4 separate regions of the Homo sapiens genome follow, and regions 2, 3 and 4 are each linked to region 1. The links are contacts of gene promoters, found by promoter capture Hi-C in blood cells and fetal thymus (Javierre and others, 2016). All regions are on one chromosome and are shown on one strand. The core of a region is centred on a gene start or on the middle of the fragment in contact, and the rest is flanking DNA. Distances in the headings are between cores, read along the strand shown.

Region 1 (3,412 bases), core at 1-2,500:
GACTGGGCAGGGGACGGGACAGAGAGGTCAGGACAACGGTCGGGCTGAAGACGTGCGGTGCGGCTGCGGGCAACTCCCTGCCCCTTTCTGAACCTCATTCCTTTATCCCACAGCGCAGGGTTCCTGGAAGCTCTGATTAGAGCGAGGCAAACAGTAGTCACTCGATAAAGAGGCTCCGCTACCCCAGGGGTGGAGTAAACCAATGGGAGCGCAACCCGCAGCCGTCCTCGCATCTGATTGGCTGCCAGGACTGTCGCTCTGAGCAGGGCTGACAGCTGGGGACTTAAAGATCATCCTCTAATCCTCCAGGGACCGAGTTTGGGCTTAACGCTTTCGTCACCAGGCTCCACCCCAAGCCTCACCTGGAAGCCTCTTCCAGGTCCTGACCCCCAGCCTCCTGCCTGGCCCAGCCCAGGCAAGGATTCCTTTCCCCTCACTGTTCTCCGAAGATAACAGCAACGAATATTGGCAGTGCTGGACATTTCACACGCCCAGGGGAAGTGCTGGACTATCACCCCACTCTACAGAAGTGGAAACCGAGGCCCAAGAAAGCAAACCCAGGCACCCAGAGAGACAGGCAGTTGCCCAGCTGGAGGCACGACCCCAGCTCTGCCCACACCTTATGTAGCATTAATCGCTCAGAGGGACCGCGGGAGCCAGAGAAAGAGTCAGGCGAAGGGGCTGGGATAGAGACTCCTGGAGTCAGCGATTCCTGATCTATTTTCCTTGGGCCGGTCCACCTCTGACACAGATGGAGAATCTGACGCTGACAGAGGGGCAGGAAGTTGCTAAAGGTGACCAGGCCGGAACTGGGACCTCAGACCCAGACCCTTACGCCAGGGTTCTTTCCTTTACATCAAGCGGGACTTAGGATCTGGGGGAGTGGGCTCAGTTTCTCCATTTGTAAGACGGGGCAAGGGGGAGTGCAGGAGTTCTAACGGGCAGGGGGCTGCAGGTGTGTGATCGGCAAAGGCCCTCTTAAGGGTCCCAGATGTCCGATGCCCCCCTTGAGAATCAGTGATCAATTCAGCCGTCGTCAACATTCACCGGAAGGAGGTCAGAGGCTGGACCCCCTAATTCCCAGGGAACTTGCATCCCTCCCGGCCCCAACCCCGCATTCTCGAGTCTCGGGCCTTCTTCCCTCTCCGAGTCCTTCTCACCTTCCAGGGGCTCCGCAGCTCTTGCCGCCTTCCCTCCGCCCAGCAGCAGGCAGGGAGCGCGCCGCCCCTTAAGCCAAGTGCGCTGAGCTTGCCCGCGCAGGTAGCAGCGCCGGGGCACGCCCCTGCCTCTGCACGCTGCTATTGGGCGACCTGCCCGTCACTCACTGGCCTGCTCCGTCGGAGCTGCGCGGGCCAAGGGAGGAGACGGGATCACAGAAGGGCCTCGCCTAGCCGGGTTTCTTAAAGGGACCGCGCGGCTCTTGCTGCATCACCGTAGGGTGGCGGAGTGCCCGGCAGGTCCCAGGCAGGCCGCCCTCCGGGAACGAGGCTGCGCTGTCTTTGGGGAGCCAGGCTGCCTCCCCACGTTGTATAACCGGCTGCAATACCGCAGCTCCGAATTGCAGGAGTTCCCTCTGTCCCCGCTGTCCCCGGGGCTGGCCAGGCTCCCTCTAGTTTAGTCCAGACTCTGGGACTACACTCGTCCGTCTGTAAAGTAGGGGTTCCACTAGATCATTCGTTCATTCATTCATTCCACGAACGCTCCTCGGCTTCTGCAGAGGATGGCAGGAGGGGGAGGGGGCCAACATTCTAGAGTCTCCGATTATAGTGGCTACCCTGATTTTGAGGAAAACCCGTTTCCCACTCTGGAAGAAGAGTTGAAATAAACTCTTCAGGCTGGAGGTGAAGCTGAAATGGGAGCGTGTGGGTCCACAGCTTTGAAGGCGCTGGGGAGAGTGAGAGGCGTGGGGACGGCTCCCGCGGCAGGAGGTGGCATTGCCGTTGGGGCTTTGAGGATAAATAGGAGTTCGCCAACGGGGAGACATCCAGGCTGAGGCCACGAGACTTGCGCTGTAAGGTAGAGTGCAGCCAAAGCGCATGGGGGGCATTTGAGGGAACTGCCTCTTCTCCAAATGGCCAGGAAGCCCAGCCTCTCCCTCTACCCCAAGTCCCGGCCCTTCAAATCATTCATTCCACCCAGACTCACCTGTGGCTTCAGCTTTTGCTCCTCCTCCCAATGGTGAGGTGGACATTTTCCCCTTGATCCCCCCATCCCCCAAGACCTCCTCTCTCCCCACAAAAGCATCAAAGCAAAGCACGCCCTCATCGACGCCAACTCTCTTGGCCACCTTCTCTTCGTACAAACAGAGGTTTTATTGCGTTTGGTCCACAGTCGTATTTCACATTATCTCACGGAGCAGGTCCCCTGGGTGGGGGGTCCCTGTGCAGTACTTGGCGGGGCATGTGGCCGGGGAAGATGGAGCAGTATAAGCTGGTCGGGCCCAGAAGGGAGGAGGGCTGGGGGCTCCTTAAAACCTACTGAGGGGCTGGGCACGGTGGCTCACACCTGTAATCTCAGCGCTTGGGGAGGCGGAGGCGGGCGGATCACACCTGAGGCCAGGAGTTCGAGACCAGCCTGGCCAACATGGGGAAACCCCATCTCTACTAAAAATACAAAAATTAGCCGGGCGTGGTGGAGCACCTGCAGTCCTAGCTACTCAGGAGGCTGAGGCTGGAGAATCGCTTGAGCCCGGAAGGTGGAGGTGCAGTGAGCCAAGATGGCGCCACTGCACTCCAGCCTGGGCAACAACCACAACTGAAAAAAAAATCTACTGAGGCCAGAGTGGGTTGGGGCGGGGAGCATGGAGAGGGGGTCAGGCTTAGCCCCAACAACTCAGAATTTCACTTCCTTGTACGGCCCTCACTTTCTCCACCTGGCCCCGGGGCAGGTCTGAGGGTCTGAAGTCTGTTGGTCTGAAGGTCCTAGGCAAATCCAGTCACTTGGGAGCCGGAGATATTTAACATCACGGCCCGGTCCCCTTTCCCAGGGGACTCATTTCCTAGCACTCTCTCCACTGTCCTTGCCCCACCCCTGGGGGAAAAAATGTATTTTTCTTTTGTGAATACTTCCTGAAACTTGCGGGCATAGAAACCACAAACTGCTCAGCTGACAAAAGGGGGAAGAGGCGAGGCAAGCAGAAACCGTCGGGGACCGGTTCCTTCCAAGCCCAGGTCTCTTCTTCCCAGCACAGCCTGAATGTGCCAGCAGGGACCCTCGCCCTACACGTATTGGGATATGGCCTTGACCCCTTCCCCCACAGCCCAGTGGCTCAGCCTTGCGAAGGATCAAGGCAAAGGGGAAAAAAGCTCTGCTGCCTGATCCCACGCTGACACTCACAGACCCTTGGTTGACTGGCAGCACTGAACGGGTTAAGAAAAAAAAAAAAAAGATGAAAACACAGAAAAACCCAAAA
Region 2 (3,412 bases), core at 667-3,166, 220 kb before region 1:
CTTGGGCCCCGTGGGCCCATTCACAAATCCGCCCCCTTTCCAGCCTGCCGTCTCGGAAGGGGCGCGCACCTCCTGCACCCTGATACTCCTCCCGGGCCTCCTCCCCTGCGGGGCGTCGCCATGGAGACGAGGGCGGAGCTCCCTCGCTCCCGCACCGCCCACTCCGCCCTCCCCACGGGGCCCCGCCCGCCGGACGCCAGGTCCTCCCCCGACCCCGACTAATGACCGGGCGGGAGGCGGTAGAGAGCGTCTAGGCCTGCGACGGGCGTGGCCGAGGATGAAAGGCGCGTGGGGGGGACCCCGGGGCCGCATAATTACCGCCTCCTCCTAGCCAGGCGGGGGCCGGGACCGTGCACCTGGCGGCCGCCCCGCGGGGGCGCAGAAATAGGACCGTCCTGGCAGAGGCTGCAGCCGACCCAGCTGGCCCCACTACGCGGGGCCCAGAGCCAGGGTGGGGGATGCAGAGACCGGGCGTGCGGGTTGCCAGGTGTGGCGCACATGTGTGCCCGTGGGCAGAGTACAGAGACACAAGCTTGTGTGGACACGAATGTGTAGCTATGTGCGAGTGCACACGGCGTGGTGAGTGCAGGGACCCCAGGCCGGCCTGCGTCGGTGCGCAGGGCATATAGGGGCGTGCACGCAGTCTTGGAGGTGTGTGCACAGAGCCCCCGGCACCCGCGTGTGTGCAAAGACACAGGAACCCGTCTGCGTGGCGCTGTGTGTGCAACCCAAGGAGGTGGGCGCTTGGACTCCAAAGTGTGCGCTTATCCGGATGTGGATGTGGGGGCAGCCGGGGACAGGGCTGGGTGTGCGTGACTCGGGTGTGCCGGGACCCACAGAGCATATGTGTCCATGCCTGGTGCTGTGACTCATGTCCCTGGGGTGGGCACGCGTGCTGTGTCAGCGGGAGCCGCGCCTCCCAGGGCAGCCCAGAGTTCCAGAAGCCCAGAAGAGGAAGGGTTAAACCTGCCTCTTCCCCCAGCTCCCAGCTGAGTCCAGGGCTGGGATCTCAGGTCCCCTGGGAGGCCCCGCGCGCCCCCCCCCGCCACCCCGCCCCACCCCCGGGCCTGAGATTCAGGGGCTGCTACACAGGAAAGCCGGACTGAGCTGCTCCCCAGCCTCAGTTTCCCTCCTGTTCCTCGGATGCGTTCGCAGGGTGGGTCGGCTTCCCTTCCCTGTGACTCACCCCCTCCCCACAGGCCTGAGTCACAGCTCAGGAATGTGGAGGCTGGGAGGCCCTGTCTACTCCTGCCCCGGCCAGGCCATCCCAGCAGCCCAAAGGCCAGGCCTGGGCCACAGAGGGACATCCCCGGCACACACACCCCGCCACAGGCCACACACAGGTGCACACCCACACCCCTGCTTCGTACCCACTGGACACAAAGTCATACACCATGCACTCGGCATCCGGAGACCCTGCCTGCCACAGGCACACGCAGTAGACAGGCTGGGGACAGGACGGACCCCGACCTGCCCTGGGGTCACACACCTGTTTGCTCTTTCAGTACACAGGATACTGCAGAGACATAGGTGACCCCTTCTGCTGGGGCGCAGACCAGCCAAGCACATGTGGCGGACGTGTAGTGACGTGCACCCATGCGTGTCTGTGACGTGCAGATCAGGTGTCTGTGAAAGGCCCAAGACCCTGCATGGCCCACGGACACCCTAAAGCTGACCGAGGCTTAGGCTCGCCTGCGTGGACGCTGGGGATGCAGCCACCTAGTTTCTGAAACTGGGAAAAGGTCTGGGGGCTCCGGAGCCCCCACCTCCATGCAGCCTCAGATGTTGCTTAGCAACAGATGCGCGCTCTGGGGTAGGCGGATGGATCTCCACCTGGGCCCAGTTCCCTCTCATGGGACTACACGTCCTGTGCCTAACAGAGAGGTCAAAGAGTGGGGATTTCCTGCAAAGCCAACCAGGCTCAGGGTGGCCCTGCCTAGGGTGGGAGGTATCTCCATGGCAACAGTGGAGTGGGACAAGTGGAGAGTATTTCCCCACTCTCCCAGGCAGCTGCAGGGGCTCAGGACCTACGGAGTGCAAGTGAAGACACCTATGTTGCATCTTGCTGGAGAGGCACCTGGCACCTGCCCGCCCCAGCGTGCCTGGAGGGTTCCCACATCCAGACGGACAGACGGGCCAGGGGACACCCGTCCAGGCAGCCATGGCTGCTCAGCCACAGTCCCTGGAGGGTCAGGGGCCCAGCTGTGAGGCAGGCGGTGCCCAAGACGCTCTCTGGACCGCACTGCTTCATCTGAGAGGTGGGCATGCCAGCAGCACCTCCTGGGGTTAGAGGCGCACAGGGAAGACCTGGTAGGAAGTCGGTCAAGGGCAGTTAGCAGCAAAAGACAGCTCCACGCAGCGCCAGGCTTTCCTTGTTGTTTGCTTCCTTGATGTGGCAGTCCACATGGAATCATCCCGTATGCAGGCCGGGAGCGCTGGCTCATGCCTGGAATCCCAGCACTTTCGTTTGAGTCCAGGAGTTTGATACCAGCCGGGGCAACATAGCTAGACCCTGTCTCTACAAAAAAAAAAAAAAAGCAAAATTAGCTGGGCATGGTGGTGCTCACCTGTAGTCCCAGCTACTCAGGAGGCTGAGGCAGGAGGATCGCTTGAGCCCAGGAGTTCCAGCGAGGCTGCAGTGAGCTGTGATGGAGCCACTGCGTTCCAGCCTGGAAAGAGAGTGAGACCCCGTCTCGAAAATACTAATAACTGGGGCCAGGTGTGGTGGCTCACACCTGTAATCCCAGCAATTTGGGAGGCCAATGCGGGTGGATCATTTGAGGGCAGGAGTTTGAGACCAGCCTGACCAACATGGTGAAATCCCTTCTCTACTAAAAATAAATAAAATTGGGCTGGATGCTGTAGCTCACGCCTGTAATCCCAGCACTTTAGGAGGCCGAGACAGGCAGATCACTTGAGATCAGGAGTTCGAGACCTGCCTGGCCAACATGGGGAAAGCCCGTCTCTACTAAAAAAATACAAAAATTAGCCGGGCGTGGTGGCGGGCGCCTGTAATCCCAGCTACTCCAGAGGCTGAGGCAGGAGAATCACTTGAACCCGGGAGGCAGAGGTTGCGGTGAGCCGAGATCGCGCCAATGCACTCCAGCCAGGGCGACAGAGCGAGACTCCGTCTCAAAACAAAAACAAACAAAAATAATAATTGTCCCGTATGCTAACTCTCCTGTTTCATTTGTATTTCCAACATGCACAGAAAGACTTTTGGAAGGCATAGGTTGGGGCTCGCCTGGGAACCCCTCTCCATCCCCCACCCAGACTCCAGCAGGCTGGAGTCAAGCTTGGCTGGGCAGCGGAGGATCACTGGTGCACAGAGGGGTGAGTGGGTGAGTGTCTGTGGCTGGAGGCCCTGGGGGTGTTCCTGCCCCCGCCCAGGCGTGTGTTGGTTGTGGGGGAA
Region 3 (3,412 bases), core at 246-2,745, 210 kb before region 1:
TCCGGGGGTGGGGACGGCACTTGCTTCTCCTTCAAAGGGCGGCGGGCGCGACCGGGACGCGGCGCGGTTAAGGGTCCTGGGGAGGGGGCGCCGCTCGGCTGGTGGCGCTGGGTGCCGTCTGCCGCCCGGGTCGCGCTTCCTCGCGCGTCCCCTCCCTTAGCAACAGCCGTCGCCGCCGCTCGGAGGATCTGGGGGTGAAAGTAACAAGAAAAAAAAGTTATAATGTATCAACGTTCCAGGGGGCGGGGCCGCCGCCCCCTCCCATTCACTACTTACTCCGCCGGCCGGGCGCCGGCCAATCGCCGCGCGCCGAGCGCCCAGTCGGCCGCGAGCCCGGGCCTATGAGAGCCGCCGCGGCACCGCCCCACGTGGCAGCCGGGCCCGCCCCCTCGCCCCGCCCCCAGCGCCCAGGCGACCAAGGGGAGCGCAGCGGGGGCGGGGCTGGCGCCTCTCCGCGCCCGCCCCCGCCCCGCCCGCGCCCGCAGCCATTCATAAGCGCCCGGAGCCCGCAACAAAGGGCGGGCGCGCCCCGGGGGGCGCGGGACCCAGGTCTGGAGACGGGTCTGGTACCCCTCGCGATCCCAAGGGAGCGGCCGGGAGCGGGAGGGGGCGCGGGCCATTGTTCCCGGCGCCGGGAGGGGCAGGAAGTCGTGGGGCCACCCCGCCGCCTTCGTCCGGGAAAAGCCGCGAGCGGAAGCGGGAGCGCGAAGTCCGCGCCTCGTGGCCGGGGTCCCGGGGCGGGCGGGCGACGGTGAGGCTAGGGCCGCGGCCCCGGGGAGGGCGTGGTGCGTGGGGGCGGAGTTGTGGCCGGGGCGGGGCGCCCGCACCTCGGTGACGTGGCCGGGTGGCTGCCGCCGGGGGCCCCGCGCGCCCACCCGCCGGCCGCGGGCAGAACCCGTTTCCCCGAGGCGCGCCCGCTCGAGCCGTGACGTGACGCGGCGTCCCCGGCTGCGCCCGCGCGCGCTCGGGGATGCGGTGAGTCAGCAGCTCGGGCGCGCCCTCTGCCGGGCCCGCCTGGGAGCGCCGCCCGGAGTCCCGGGGAGGGGGCGCCGCGCTGCCCCTGGCAGGGGAGGAAGACGACTGGGCTGCGCGCGGGGGAGGAACCCCGATCGGGAACGAAAGACTGTAGTCGGGAGACTGGGACCGTGTGGCTGGGCAACGGAGGGCGGAACGGCAACCAGTTCAAGGTCACCCGCGGTGAAGGGGGAGTGCCCCGGGGGGCGGGGCGGGGGCTGAGGTCCGGCCAGGGCGGCGCTGGCTGCGCGGAGCCCCTCCCACCCCGCACCCCGGGGGGCTTCCCAGGACCGGAGGCTCCCCGATCCCTCCTGTCCCAAGAACAAAGAAAAGTGCGGGCATCCTGAGCCATCTAGAGTGGGCACCCTTCCTCGGCCCGCAGGTCCCCCCCCTCCACACTCACCGGGCGCGGCCGGTTCTGCGCTCCAAGTGCTGCGAGTACCTTCGTCCGGGGCCGAATGCGCGCTGGCCGGGCCGGTCTGGGCCAAGCGCGCGGCCCTCAGCCTTTATCCGCGCCGCCTTCCCTCGGGGTGGAGTTAGGGCGGGCAGGGGGGCGGGGGGCCGGGCGGGCGGTGACGCAGACTGGCCCCCGCCCCTGCCTGCCGGCCCTGGCCCTGGGGCGCCTTGACGGCTGGGCCACCCGGGACCCAGGCTTGGCGCAGTTCATGGGGGGACTCCCCTTGAATGCCCCGAGCCAAGGGTCTCGGCCCGCCTCGCCGCGGGCTGAGATGCACCCCGAATCGTCAGCGGGACAGGGTTTTGGGGTGTACAGCGCGACTCGCTGCCCCGCCCCCTTCCTGTCGCCCCAGGCCCGGTGCTTCCGCCTGGGGGCGCCCGCGTGGGGGGGACGGGAAGAGGGGCCTGAGTCAGCGGCTGTCGTCCAGGAAAACAGGCTGGAGTCACCTGCCGTAGAGTGGGGGTGCCCTGGCCAGCCCTGGCCTCCTGCATCTGTCAATGGTGACCTCAGAGGGCATTTATGGAGCGATTAGCCAGTGCCAGGCCTGCCTTGTGCCCAGCCAGTCACCAGCCGGCTATGCTGTGACCCCGGGAGGTAACTGGCCTCTCCAAGCCTCAGTTTCTCCAGGGTGGGTGGGAGTGTGGTGAGGGGATGCGGCAGGATCACTTTGGGGCCATCACCCCCCATTAATGCAGGACATGCACTGGTTCCCAGCCTTTGGGGTGGGCATTACCCCATTTTACAGATGAAGAAACTGAGGCCACAGCCAATGAGACACGAATGTGGTGTGCATCTCACCCTTCCCCGTCGGCTTTTTGAGGATGGTCCTGGTTGAGGTGGGCCCCGTCCTGCCCCTCTATTTAGAGAAGGGGACCCCATTCCTACGGGAGCACCTCCTGTCCACTCATCTGGCCCCTCCCTTTATCTGGCCTGACCACCTCCACCCCCACCCTGGCCATGGGCGCCCCTCCCAGGGCTGCGCTCCTCCCCAGGTCTCCTTCCGGCTGCCACCCATGCTCCCGGCAGCCGTGGCCCCCACCTTGACAGGCACACCCAGCCCCGAAGGGTCAGGGCTAGGCCAGAGAGGGAGAGGCTGGGATAACCCTTGGAAGGGGGTCACAGGGGCTGCGGTTTGAGGAATGACTAGGAGTTTGTCACATAAAAAAGATGATGCGGTCGGGCGCGGTGGCTCACGCCTGTAATCCCAGCACTTTGGGAGGCCGAGGCGGGCGGATCACAAGGTCAAGAGATTGAGACCAGCCTGGCCAACATGGTGAAACCCTGTCTCTACTAAAAATACAAAAATTAGCTGGGCATGGTGGCATGTGTCTGTAGTCCCAGCTACTCAGGAGGCTGAGGCAGGAGAATCGCTTGAACGCGGGAGGCGGAGGTTACAATAAACCCAGATCGTGCCAGGGCACTCCAGCCTGAGCGACAAAACGAGATTCCGTCTCAAAAAAAAAAAAAAAAAAAAAAAAGGCCGGGCGCGGTGGCTCATGCCTGTAATCCTGGCACTTTGGGAGGCCGAGGCGGGCGGATCACGAGGTCAGGAGTTCGAGACCAGCCTGATCAACATGGTGAAACCCTGTCTGTACTAAAAACACAAAAATTAGCCAGGCGTGGTGATGTGCGCCTGTAATCTCAGCTACTTGGGAGGCTGAGGCGGGAGCATTGCTCGAACCCGGGAGACGGAGATTGTGGTGAGCTGAGATTGTGCCATTGCACTCCAGCCTGGGCAATAAGAGCGAAACTCCTCTCAAAAAAAAAAAAAAAAAAAAAAAAAAAAGACGATGGTCCAGGAAGTGGGAATGGCTTGAGCAGTTCTGGGAGCTTAGTGAACTGGACCCAGTTGGAGGGAGGAGGGGCAGGGTCGATGAATGGGGCTTGGATGAAGGGCTGGGGCCCCAGGTGGGAACTACAGGGCCAGGCTCATTCTGCTTC
Region 4 (3,412 bases), core at 270-2,769, 190 kb before region 1:
TTCTCACCTGTACTCCAGGGTGTACACACAGCCACTGTCCGCACCCACCTGACCCGGGGAGATGCCAGCCAGGGTCTGGCCCAAGCCAGGGCCCACTCCTGTGTGTGTGAGACAGAGACAGGGCACACGCGTTGTGTGTGTGTGGGGGCCACAGGTGTTCTGTGTGTAGGAGGGTACAGGCATTCTGTGGGGGGGGCACAGGCATGGGGGGTGCACAGGCGTTCTGTGGGGGGGGCACAGGCGTGTGTGTGTGAGGGGGCCACAGGCGTTCTGTGGTGGGGGGCACAGGCGTTCTATGTGTGTGTATGGGGGCCACAGGCGTTCTGTGTGTGGGGGGGGCCCAGGCGTTGTATGTGTGGGGGGCACACGTTGTGTGTGTGTGGTGGGGGTCCACAGGCGTTGTGTGTGGCGGGGGGGCACAGGCATTGTGTGTGTGTGGCGGGGGGGCATAGGCATTCTGTGTGTGTGTGGAGCGGGTGGAGGCACATGCCGGCTGACGCTTACGGCACATCCCGTGCGCAGGTTCCCCCAAGCGGCACCACTTCCAGCGGCAGCGGGCAGCCAGTGAGAGCACGGAGCAGGAGGAGGGGGATGCCCCCCAGGAGGACTTCATCCAGTACATTGCCCGGGCGGGCGACGCCGTGGCCTTCCCGCACCCCCGCCCCTTTCTGGCCAGCCCGCCCCCTGCTCTCGGCAGGTATTTTTCAGTAGATGGAGGTGCTAGGGGTGGACCTGTGGGCCCTTGCCCCCCTTCGCCCCCCCCTAGGCGGCCCAGGGAGCGCTCTCCAGGCCCCGTGGACACGCGCTCGCCTGCCTCCAGCGGCAAGGCCCCTCCCAGAGGCGGACTCACTGGGGCCACCTCTCCAGCATGGACCAGAGGAGGGAAGCAGGGAGAGACTGGGTAAGGGTAGGGCGGTGGGTGGGGAGGAGGGGCCCCCCGAGGATGGCGCTGGTACTGCTGCTTGCTGGTGGAGTCCGAGGCCTGAAGGGTTCTGCTGTGGTCCCAGGCCCTCTCCCACCCCCGCCCCGCCCATGCTCCCAAGGCTGGGCAGACTCCTCTCAGAAGCTGCTGTGACCACTCCGGCCAGCAGCACCCCTCCCCCAACCCAAGGGCAACTTCCCTGAAGCCCAGGGCCCACGTCGGTGGGATGGGAATGGGGCGTGGGGCTGGGGCAGAGCAGGGTTCCTGGGGCAGCCCTGGTATGGCGGGTGACCCTCACGTCTGTGCACTGTCCTCCTGCTGGTTATCCAGCATGGGTGGGCAGAGAGCCCTAGCCTGGAGCAGGGGCTGAGCTGGACTCAACCGCGTCCAGTCCATCCCCTGCGGCTCCCACGTCCACTGGGAGGCTGGGAAAACGTGACTCCCGGAGAGAAGCATGTTGACTTTTCCTGGGGGCTTCCAAGGGAGGGGGCCCCGCCGTCTGCAGTCCAGCATGGAGGCACCCTGCTTAATAAGCAGGCGCCACAGCTCAGGGTCAATGCAAGACGCATCCCCTGCAAAACACACTGGCTCATTTTAAAGCTCTCACCTTCCAAGGCCCGCCCGAGTCCCAAGTCCCACCCGCGTCCACCCTCCCTGATCCAGAGGCGGGATGGCCGGCCGGGTAGGGGGCGCGGGGCTCGGCGGGGCTCTGACGGCGCGGCCTGGCTTGCAGGCTAGAGGCGGCCGAGGCAGCGGGAGGAGCGAGCCCCGATTCCCCCCCGGAGCGCGGCGCGGGCAGCGCGGGGCCTGAGCAGCAGCAGCCGCCACTGGAGCCGGACGCCGAGCGGGACGCGGGCCCCGAGCAGGCCCAGACCAGCTACCGCGACCTGTGGAGCCTGCGCGCCTCGCTTGAGCTGCATGCGGCCGCCTCGGACCACAGCAGCAGCGGCAACGACCGCGACTCGGTGCGCAGCGGCGACAGCTCGGGCTCAGGCTCCGGGGGCGCGGCGCCCGCCTTCCCGCCGCCCTCCCCGCCCGCGCCGCGGCCCAAGGACGGCGAGGCGCGCCGGCTGCTGCAGATGGACAGTGGCTACGCCAGCATCGAGGGCCGCGGCGCAGGCGACGACACCGAGCCACCTGCCGCGCCCGCCCGGCCCCGCAGCCCGCGCGCCTGGCCCCGCCGCCCGCGCCGCGACTACAGCATCGACGAGAAGACGGACGCGCTGTTCCACGAGTTCCTGCGCCACGACCCGCACTTCGACGACACGCCGGCTGCCGCGCGACACCGCGCCCGCGCGCACCCGCACGCCCGCAAACAGTGGCAGCGTGGCCGGCAGCACAGCGACCCCGGCGCCCGCGCGGCCCCGGCCCTGGCCGGAACCCCGGCACCGCCTGCCGGCGCGGCCCGACCCGCGCGTGCGCCCTTGCGGCGCGGCGACAGCGTGGACGGCCCGCCCGACGGTCGCACCCTGGGCGGCGCCGGCGACGACCCCGCCATCCCCGTCATCGAGGAGGAGCCGGGCGGCGGGGGGTGCCCCGGCTCGGGCCTGTGCGTCCTACCATCCGGGTCGGTGCTGGACAAGCTGGCGGCTGGCCTCGACGAGAGACTCTTTCCGCCGCGCCTCGCCGAGCCCGTCGTGGCGACTCCCGCGTTGGTCGCCGCCGCCCCCACGTCCCCCGACCACAGCCCGGCCTAAGTCCCGCGTCCTGGGCCCATCTCTCTGGCAGCTTCTCCGGCGCCGCACGGGGCCTCGGCGGCGGGAGAGACGTGGGGGCGCGACGCCCCGACGCGAATGCGCGGGGACCGCGGGCCCTTCGCGCACGCGCCGGGCGACGGAGGCGCGCTCGCCGCTTCAGGGCGCAGGCGCAGAGCCCCGGCCGCCCTCGCGCCGCCGAAGTGTGCACTGCTCTTTCCGGTGCTTGCCGGGTGCTGGGCGTCGTGAGGCGCGGGCCGCGGAGACCCCGGCTGGGCGGGAAGGAAGGGGCGTGAACGGCTCTCAGCTTCGGGCTCCTGAGGACAACGATCACTCGCCCTCAGTCCCGGACGGGGCGGCCGCTTAGTCGCAGGGCCCGCCACCCGAGGGTCGCGCAGCCCACTGGGCCCGATGGAGCCGCCGCGTGCCGGGCGCGTGCGCGAGCTCGCCCGGGCGGGGGCCGCGGGGCGCTAACGGTCGCAGACGAGTTCGCCGCCCTGGGCCGGGAGGCGGCTCAACACCGTGACTGCCGACCTCCGAGACCGTTTACCTCACTGCGGCGTGTGCTGGCGGCAGCCCGCGCCGCCTCCGAGCAATAACCGCGCCGCCACCGCTGCTGCCGCCGGCCCTGAGGGAGCCGGCCCCGGCCCTCCCGCGCCCCGAGTCCCCACTGCCCTCCGCATGTCAACGGCGCCCGCCCCGCTGCCGCCCCATCCACGTTGAGACGCGAACAAAACCCAGACGGCCAGGTCCAAGCTTCCCAAGCTTTATTTATTGCCAAATTTGGGCGGCCTCG

The links. Contacts are between HindIII fragments. The CHiCAGO score rates a contact against its expected background, and 5 or more counts as called.
Region 2: a contact is called between a fragment that was not itself captured here and the fragment with the promoter of ABCA7 in region 1, in 1 of 17 cell types (total CD4 T cells). The highest score is 5.3, in total CD4 T cells.
Region 3: the fragment with the promoter of MIDN here is called in contact with the fragment with the promoter of ABCA7 in region 1 in 17 of 17 cell types (neutrophils, monocytes, M0 macrophages and 14 more); the score reaches 20.5 in neutrophils.
Region 4: a contact is called between a fragment that was not itself captured here and the fragment with the promoter of ABCA7 in region 1, in 1 of 17 cell types (monocytes). The highest score is 5.5, in monocytes.

Annotation. Positions count from the first base shown.
Region 1 is chr19:1,037,945-1,041,356 of GRCh38, reverse strand. It overlaps ABCA7 (ATP binding cassette subfamily A member 7), which reads right to left and starts at 1,250. Exons shown (of 47, transcript NM_019112.4): 1 at 1,161-1,250; 2 at 1-132. CNN2 (calponin 2) reads right to left here. Exons shown (of 7, transcript NM_004368.4): 7 at 2,292-3,412. RefSeq lists enhancers at 1-203, 2,096-2,595, 2,596-3,097, 2,685-3,244 and a silencer at 115-254. The HindIII fragment of the contact is 29,553 bases long and covers 1-3,412 here.
Region 2 is chr19:1,263,359-1,266,770 of GRCh38, reverse strand. LOC105372236 (a long non-coding RNA gene) reads left to right here and starts at 230. Exons shown (of 3, transcript XR_936233.3): 1 at 230-2,258; 2 at 3,212-3,341. It also overlaps LOC107985303. RefSeq lists a silencer at 1-452 and enhancers at 3,181-3,230, 3,271-3,360. The HindIII fragment of the contact is 2,763 bases long and covers 535-3,297 here.
Region 3 is chr19:1,246,666-1,250,077 of GRCh38, reverse strand. MIDN (midnolin) reads right to left here and starts at 1,495. Exons shown (of 9, transcript NM_001388306.1): 1 at 1,418-1,495; 2 at 1-188. LOC102723811 (a long non-coding RNA gene) reads left to right here and starts at 2,006. Exons shown (of 2, transcript XR_007067082.1): 1 at 2,006-2,065; 2 at 2,217-3,412. RefSeq lists silencers at 1-31, 272-741, 772-891, 952-1,411, 1,502-2,041 and 1 more and enhancers at 885-1,418, 3,354-3,412. The HindIII fragment of the contact is 31,339 bases long and covers 1-3,412 here.
Region 4 is chr19:1,228,386-1,231,797 of GRCh38, reverse strand. It overlaps CBARP (CACN subunit beta associated regulatory protein), which reads left to right. Exons shown (of 10, transcript NM_001393918.1): 9 at 523-697; 10 at 1,656-3,412. The coding sequence ends at 2,619. It overlaps STK11 (serine/threonine kinase 11), which reads right to left. Exons shown (of 10, transcript NM_000455.5): 10 at 3,367-3,412. Among named protein-coding and RNA genes, the nearest start is that of CBARP-DT, 7.8 kb to the left of the region's middle. The HindIII fragment of the contact is 3,711 bases long and covers 1-3,374 here.